Linked DNA regions of Homo sapiens: regions 1 and 2 are each linked to region 3. Evidence: promoter capture Hi-C in human tissues and cell types (Jung and others, 2019). All regions are on one chromosome and are shown on one strand. The core of a region is centred on a gene start or on the middle of the fragment in contact, and the rest is flanking DNA. Distances in the headings are between cores, read along the strand shown.

The links. Contacts are between HindIII fragments. The study calls those that stand out against the background at their distance.
Region 1: a fragment that was not itself captured here is called in contact with the fragment with the promoter of CST9 in region 3 in 2 of the 25 tissues and cell types used here (bladder and dorsolateral prefrontal cortex).
Region 2: a fragment that was not itself captured here is called in contact with the fragment with the promoter of CST9 in region 3 in 2 of the 25 tissues and cell types used here (mesendoderm cells and thymus).

Annotation. Positions count from the first base shown.
Region 1 is chr20:23,382,568-23,385,487 of GRCh38, reverse strand. All of the region lies in intron 7 of NAPB (NSF attachment protein beta), which reads left to right. Among named protein-coding and RNA genes, the nearest start is that of GZF1, 22 kb to the right of the region's middle. The HindIII fragment of the contact is 8,963 bases long and covers 1-2,920 here.
Region 2 is chr20:23,465,296-23,468,257 of GRCh38, reverse strand. No RefSeq gene overlaps it. Among named protein-coding and RNA genes, the nearest start is that of CST11, 14 kb to the right of the region's middle. The HindIII fragment of the contact is 8,919 bases long and covers 1-2,962 here.
Region 3 is chr20:23,604,662-23,607,450 of GRCh38, reverse strand. CST9 (cystatin 9) reads left to right here and starts at 1,534. Exons shown (of 2, transcript NM_001008693.3): 1 at 1,534-1,841. The coding sequence starts at 1,587. The HindIII fragment of the contact is 5,555 bases long and covers 1-2,789 here.

The DNA of each region.
Region 1 (2,920 bases), core at 36-2,535, 220 kb after region 3:
GCGATTGGCCTTTGATTTTCTTTCTAATTCTATCCATTGTTGAGAGTTGGGTGTTAAAATCTCCAACTTTAGTTGTGGATTTGTCTGACTCTTCTTTCATTGTGTCAGTCTTTGCGTCACATACTTTGCAGCTCTGGATTGCTATTCTTGCTGGAGAGACCCTTTTATCATTACATAATGTCCTTCTCTGTCTCTGGTAATTTTCTTGGCTCAAGTCTACTTTATCCACTTTATAGCCCTGCCTGGTTTCTTTTGATTAATGTTTATATGATATGTTTGTCCATTCTTTTTCTTTCAGCCTGTCTATATCATTATAACTGAAGTGAGTTTCTTGTAGTTGGATCTTGTTTTTTTTTGTTTGTTTGTTTTGAGACAGAGTCTTGCTCTGTCTCCTACACTGGAGCGCAGTGGAGTGATTTTGGCTCACTGCAACCTCTACCTCTTGGATTCAAGTAATTCTCCTGCCTCAGCCTCCCGAGTAGCTGAGATTACAGGTGCGTGCCAGCATGCCCGGCTAATTTTTGTATTTTTAGTAGAGACAGGATTTCACCATGTTGGCCAGGCTGGTTTCATACTCCTGACCTCGGTGATACACCCGCCTTGGCCTCCCAAAGTGCTGGGATTGCAGGCATGATCCACCACAGCCAGCCTGGATCCTGTTTTTTAATCCACTGTGCCAATCTTTGTTTTTCAATTGGTGTATTTAGGTCATTCACATTTAATGCAGTTATTTATATGTTAGGGCTTAATTCTGCTTTCTGCCATTTTAGTTTTTGCTTTCTATTCTTTGCTTTTTGTTTCTCTGTTTTCTTTTTCCAACCTTTTTATGGGTTGCTTTTCTTTTTTTTCTTTCTTTCTTTTTTTTTGAGACTGGGTCTCACTCTGTCACCCAGGCTGGAGGGAAATGGTGCGACCCTGGCTCACTGCAGCCTCCACCTCCCAACCTCAAGCAGTCCTCCCACCTCAGCCTTAGCCTCCAGAATAGCTGAGACTACAGACATGCACCACCACACCTGGCTATTTTTTGTAGCGATGGGGTTTTGCCATGTTGTCCAGGCTGGTCTTGAACTCCTGAGCTCAAGTCTTTTTGTAGCGATGGGGTTTTGCCATGTTGCCCAGGCTGGTCTTGAGCTCCTGAGCTCAAGTCATCTGCCCACCTCGGTCCCCCAAAGTGCCAGGATTATAGGTGTGAGCCACCACACCCAGCCTACTTGATTTTCCAGTGTTTCTAAGTACAGTTATTCCTCAGTGTCTACAGGGGATTAGTTCCAGGACCTCTCTCATATATCAAAATCTGTGCATAGTCAAGTCCCACAGTCGGCCCTGTGGAACTCACATATAAAAAAGTCTGCCTTTCATTTATATGGGTGTTGAATTCCTAAGAATACTGTATTTTCAATCCACATTTGGTTGAAAAAAATCCGTATATAAGTGGATTCACACAGTTTAAACCAGTGTTGTTGGAGAATCAATGGTATATATCTTTGTGTAGCTTTTGTGGTTAAATGCTGTAGGTTGGTGTCATCATTTTATAAGTTCTGGTGAAATATAGAAATCTTACCTCCCTTTCTGTTCTTTTACTCCCCCTATTCAATATATAGTTGTCTTAATGTTTCCTCTGCATACATTTAGAACCACATGAGTCAATGTTAGAATTTTTGTTTCAGCCATCAAACATAATTTAGAAAACTCAAGAAAGAAAGCCTGTTATATTTACCCATATTTTTGCTTACCATGTTCTTTCTTCTGGATGTTCCAAGATTATTGTTTCCTTTCTATTTAGAGAACCTCCTTTTGTCATTTTTTTAGGGTAGGTCTGCTGACAACAAATTTTCTTAGTTTTCCCCTATCTGGAAACGTTTTGATTTTGCCTTCATTTCTGAAACATAGTTTTCCTGGGAGTATAATTCTAAGTTGATTGTTCTTTTCCTTTAGTTTCAAAAATGTGCACTTTATGGCTTCCATGGTTTTACAAACTTCTGACATCAAGTGATCCACCCACCTCAGCCTCCCAAAGTGCTGGGATTACAGGCATGAGCCACAACGCCTAGTCGGCCTCCATTGTTTTTGATAAGAAGTCTGCTGTCATTCAACTTGTTTTCCCCTATAAAAAAGGTGTTATTCTCTAGACACTTTCATAATTTTTTTCTTTTAGTTTCAAAAGTTTAATTATAATGTGGCTTGGATAGATATATTTGGTTTTAAGCTATTTGAGTTTCCCTAAACTTACAGAATCTGTAGGTTTATGTTTCTTGTCAAATTTGAGAATCATTTAGCAGTTATTTCTTCAAGTACTTTTTCAGCTTCCTTTTTTTTTTTTTTTTTTTTTTTGAGACCGAGTCTTGCTCTGTCGCCCAGGCGTGCCAGTTTAATGGCGCAATCTTGTCTCACTGCAACCTTTGCCTCCCAGGTTCAAGCAATTCTCCTGTCTCAGCCTCCCAAGTAGCTGGGACTACAGGTGCTTGCCACCACACCTGGCTAATTTTTGTATTTTTAGTACAGACAAGGTTTCGCCATGTTGACCAGGCTGGTCTTGAACTCTTGACCTCAAGTGGTTCGCCTGCCTTGGCCTCCCACAGTGCTGGGATTACAGGCGTGAGCCACCATGCCCAGCCAGCCCTTTTCTCTTTCTCCTCCCCTTCTAGAACACAGATGCCACAAAAGTGAGACTGTTTTATTATCCCATGGGTCCTTGATGCTCTGTTCCTTTTTGTCAGTTTGTCTTCTCTCTGTTGTTCCTGTTGTTGTCTTCCATTTAGTGCTTCTTTCCTCTGTCCCTTTCATCCTGCTGTTGAGCCCACCCACTTTTTATGTATGGTACTGTTTTTTTTTTTCAGTTCTGAAATTTTTATTTGTTTTTACTTTATATCTTTTTTCCTGTGGCTTCCTTTTTCTTTGTGGATGCTTTCCATTTTTCCAT
Region 2 (2,962 bases), core at 269-2,768, 140 kb after region 3:
TTTATTATACTTTAAGTTCTAGGGTACATGTGCACAACATACAGGTTTGTTACATATGTATACATGTGCCATGTTGGTGTGCTGCACCCATGCCCACCAAGTTTTAAATTTTAAGAACTGAGCAGGAGTTAGACAAGCTGAAGTAAGAGTGTCCCAGTCAGTAGGAATCATCTGACTTGAAATAGTAACATTCTTTAACAGTCCCATTCCAAAAGGAGAACCTGGTCCATACTGATTTATAGCTTGTTTTATTTCTTTGAGTAATTTAAAAAGAAAAGGCTCAAATGTAGCTGTAATATTTCCCTGTTGATCTGGGGGGTGTATTCTAACAGGGAACTGCCAAGCCTCTAAATCACCCTCTCGTCTAGCTTGCTGAATTCCTGCCTGAATAGAACTAAGACTGGTTGCTCGAGGCACTGCTCAAACAGTCACTGGGGCAACTACTTTTCACCCAGTGTCCTCCAGAAAAGAAAGATCTGGGGGTTCATTTTCTTCAAAATAATAAGGAGGGGGTGCAGAAGGGTAGGGATGAAACTTTCCTTCCTTTGCCGCTTTAGCTGGCAAATAAACATGCTCTGTAACCTCTTCTGTTACTTCACTATACTCTTGTTCTCCTCATTATCAGTGTGAAAAAGTTCCAAGGTGAAAGGAACCAGACCCCACACTGTCCCACCGTTACCCTGATGCTTCTGAGCTCCCCTTCTTACTCACCATGGGGATTGCTTTAAGAGTACTCGGGTGTCCTCCAGCTAGTTTTCCATTCCAACGGTTGCTCTGGCAACCCTTCGATCCGGATTCGAGTCCCACATTGGGTGCCACTTGCTGAGACCAGCTTGGTCGGGGAGACCCTAACCCTGCGGCGCTAGAGGAATTAAAGACACACACACAGAAATATAGAGGTGTGAAGCGGGAAATCAGGGGTCTCACAGCCTTCAGAGCTGAGAGCCACAAACAGAGATTTACCCACATATTTATTAACAGCAAACCAGTCATTAGCATTATTTCTATAGACATTAAATTAACTAAGAGTATCCCTTATGGGAAACAAAGGGATGGGCCGAATTAAAGGAATAGGGTGGGCTAGTTAACTGCAGCAGGAACACACCCTTAAGAAACAGATCACTCATGCTATTATTTGTGGCTTAAGAATGCCTTTAAGTGGTTTTCCACCCTGGGTGGGCCAGGTGTTCCTTGCCCTAATTCCTGTAAACCCACAACCTTCCAGCTCGGGCATTAGGGCCATTATGAACATGTTACAGTGCTGCAGAGATTTTGTTTATGGCCAGTTTTGGGGCCAGTTTATGGACAGATTTTGGGGGGCCTGCTCCCAACATACCACTGCAAAGATGGTGAGGAAACCTTAGGGCACTATTACCCCTTTGTCCACTTCTACCTTGTATGTTATTGTTGTCATGTACTTAAATTCTACATATTTGATAGCCTGTAAAACAATATTACAGTGGTTTTATACGTTTAATATTCATGGGGATTTATCAATTATATTTACCCTTCTTCTGTGCACCATTCCTTCAACATTACTTTGCTTCCACCTGGGATCATTCTCCCTTACCTCCAAAGAACTCATTTTAGTGTTTATTTTTTATTGGATCTTGTTGGTGTATCATTTAGCTTTTTCCAAAAGCTGACTTTTCTCTAAACAATTTAACTTCTCTGGGACCCCCTATCCTAGGGGTTCAGCCAAATCTCCATCTTCTCTCTTCTGGGTGTCCCCAAAATACTGCTAACACATGGGTTTAAGACTATAAATTTCCCTCTAAGCCCTTTTATGGCAACATCTCAGAAATGTTGATATGTCATATGGTTATTATCTTTCAATTCAAAATCCATGAATTATTTTTAAATTTATTGTTTGATTTTTTTATTGTTAAATTTACAGACAGCTAGAGTTATTAAAATTATTTTTAGCTATTTTTATTATAGTTGTTTACTGTGAACAAAGAACACACTCTGAAACATTTTCATCTTTAAAATTTTTGAGTTTTTTTTCTTTTTGATGTTCTGAAAATGTCTTTATTTTGCTTTCATTTTTGAGGAGTATCTTTACTGACTATGGAATTCTAGATTGTTCATTATTTTCTTTCAGTTCAAAGATTCAAATCTGGGCTTCTGCAAATGGTCTATTTCCAGTTCACTTTTACTCCTAGGATGTGGCCTCTCATGGTTTCACCTGAAACCCTTGGATATTTACCATAGTCTTCTTCCTTATCAGGCACTGAACTTTAATTTTTGTCCCCTCAATTGAAGCAGAGAAAATGCATTTTCCCAAGCAGCGTTGAAAGTCAAGATCTTTCATCCCCTTTCTGCCCCTGGTGCCCTCCACTCTAGGTCTTGCTCCAAGTCAGGCAGTTTCCTACATCAAGGCAAGTGTCTATTACCACAGTGTCTCTCCAAAGGGCAGTGAGTAGCATCTGCAACTGAGTCCTCACAATGGAGACCATGCTGGGCCCCCAGGCTGAAGGATTTAAGCATCAAAAAGCTGGTAGGGACATGCTGAGTTGAGCTGCTGCTTCTGCAATCATCTGCAGTCTTGGCAAAGTTTTTCTTATTAACCGAGAAGTTGGTCAGGCCCTTAGGGACAGGCTCATATACCTAGAGGACCTTTTGGAGACTCATGGGCAGAGCGGAGAGCTGCCTGATCAGGGCTCCTGCCCTGGAGCTTCTGCAACCCTCCCTTGGGATTCCTTCATTACCAAAGGTGCAAAATCAGAGGCTTGGAATTGAGCATATATCCACACACTCGTGTTCACAGCAGCATTATCCACAATAGCTGGGAGGTGGAAGCAGCCCAAGTGTCCATGGAAGAATGAGTGAATAAAAAAAATGTGGCATTTCCATACAATGGAATATTATTCAGCCATAAAAAAGGAAAAAACGGTTACATGTTACAACATGGGTGAACCTTGAGGATGTTATACTAAGTGAAATAAGCCAGTAACAAAAG
Region 3 (2,789 bases), core at 285-2,784:
CACTCTCCAGCTAAGAAACCACATTAGTTACGCTTCAGCTGCAGTTCCAGTGAACTCAACGCCATCAGAGAAAGGATACAGACTCCTTGGGTGATGTTTTTGGCACATCTGGCTGCTTTCCTGGAATTGTCACATTGAGTTGCTTTTTCTTTGCAAACAGGGTCTAGAAACAAACTCTTATTCTTTATCACCAGGCATGCTGTCTAAGCCTGTCCCCCATCCTGTGTGCCCCACAAAAGCCATTCTCATCCCCTGACCTCCATGCCCCTCAAGCTGAGTTACTTCTCATATGTGGTTTGGTCTGTATGCACTTCCCAGGAAGTATTCTGAACCTGCACCACTCAAAGTATGGTTCTGAGACCGGGAACACAACCATCCTCTGGAAGCTGGTGAGAAATGTAGTTTCCCTGGCCCTGCTCACAGCTACTGGGTCAGAATCTTTGGGTGGGGAAACTAGGAACTTGCTTTTTAACGTGACATCAGGGGATGCTGGTTGCTTCTGAAGTTTACAAGGAGCTACGGATAAACATCAAAGGCATATTTCACAGGGACAAAGCTTAAGTCTGGTCTGTGAAGAGTGCATTATTCAGTCTTTTGAGAGCCCCATTTGCGGTTGGAGTTGGAGGCTATGTGGGTCTTGGTCGAGAACTCAGAATCTCCACCCACAAACTGTGCCGCAGAGTGCTGTGCCGGCTGTGGCCACAGGAGGGAACCCGTGACAACCTAATGGGTGCACTTCAGCCATCCCTGAGGGCATCTTCGTCTTTCTGGTTCTCCACTGCTCCAATTGCAAGCGGCCACCCGTCCTGGAAACACCTTTGAGGAATAGGGGCAGCCATAACTAGCCAGGCCCCTAGTACCAGCACTTGGCAGCGCGTCCCTGGGCTGGGAAGCTGCATTTAGGGAGGTGCAGAGAACAGGGTTGGGGGCTCCTGCTCTTGATTTCCTCAACCTCTGCCCACGACCCCCAGGCTGGTGCCCCCCTCCCGAGACCCTCGGGGGAGCAGACACCTGCAGGACATCCCGCCAATCCTCCCGGGCTCCCCGCCTCTCTCTCAAGAGGCCCAGTGCTTTCTCGGGGCGCTGTACCTGCTCACCCATGATACTAGCATCCACTGTCATCCCTTTCCATCCTTTTGTCTCTGCCTTTCCACCTAACCTCCCCCTCCCAGCCCACCCCCACTGCTGAGTCCAGGGCTCACCTTCCACTCATACCTCTCACACTTGTGTTCCTGTGCCGGGCTCTGACTCTGGGGCGCCCAGTAGAGGTCTCCTTTAGCCTGCGGAGGTGCTGGGGCAGCTGGGGCTGGGCCTCATGTTCAGGGCACTATCTCTCCCATTGCTAGTCTTTTCCAACCCACCTGCCTGGGTGCTGTTCCTCTCCCCTAAACAGGAGATGATTTAAACGCCTTTGGAAGAAGGGAGGCCATGTGTGGGAGAGACAGGGTGTAACTGCAGAGGTGAGGCCTGGAGGGAGGAGTTTCTGCCCCAGCAGGTGAATTTAAAGGCCAGACCTGAGCCCTGGAAGGCTCCAGTGGACGCCAGGGATCTGAAGGGCAAAGGCAAGGGCTGCTGGAGCCTGCATCATGTCGAGTCCGCAGAGGAGGAAGGCTATGCCCTGGGCACTGTCACTGCTTCTCATGGGCTTCCAGCTCCTGGTGACTTATGCCTGGTGTTCTGAAGAGGAAATGGGTGGTAATAATAAAATAGTCCAGGATCCTATGTTCCTCGCCACAGTGGAGTTTGCCTTGAACACTTTCAACGTGCAGAGCAAGGAGGAGCATGCCTACAGGCTGTTGCGCGTCCTGAGTTCATGGAGGGAGGATAGCATGGACAGAAAGGTTGGTGACCACATCCTCTTCTGGCCTGTCCTTCTCCATCTGCCCCTAAGTGAGGGACCAAGATGTCTAGTCTAGGAGACTTGGTTCACCATCAGCAGTCCATAGTCAGGTAGTCCACAACCAATTACGGTAGTTTTAGTTTTGGAAAACATTGAACTTAAAATTTTTTTTAAATTAGGTAAATGTCTATTCACATGCAAAATATATTTTTCAATCTTCATGATTTTTAAGACATTGTATAACTGAAGAGTGACTTCAAAATAAGGACTTCTAAGGAGATGAAGCTGACAAGAAGAGAAAATAACCAAAGAGACTGATAAACATTTCCAGGTCATAAAATGAAAATGGAAAAGCAAGGACACACAGAGGGAGAGAGAGAGAGAGACAGAGAGAGACAGACAGACAGAGAGAGAGAGACAGAGAGAGAGAGAGACAGGCAGACAGAGAGAGAACAGTGAGAATTCGAGGGCAATAAAGAACACCATCAGCCCTGAGAGGCCACCGTGAAAGGTTAGTTCTCTGATCTCCACCTTCTCTGGGCTCCTTGCTCTGTCTGCACTTAATGAACTGAAGGCCAATTTACACTCTTCCTCAATGGACCTTTATCCTAAAATGCTTGCCTTTTTGATGAAATCATTAAATGTGGTCAGGAATGCACAGTTCATCTGGGCTTCAGGCATGAACAATTAAAATGCCCTCCTAGTGGAGAACTTCTGGTTTAGAGAGAGAAGGAGCATTGCTCTTCCTTTCTCAGCACCAAGAGCCTGAAAGAAAGGCAGAGGGACTCTAGTACCGCACAGAGCTTAAGCTCTGGAAAGACTCTGTGCAAGGCTCTGGCTGGTTCTCTGCCTCCTGGGGTGGATTCCTCACTGCCATCCTCAGGATTCCAATGCTGGTACAGAGGAATTTTCCTCCTTGCTCATTTGCTGCCTCCTCTCAGGAGAATTA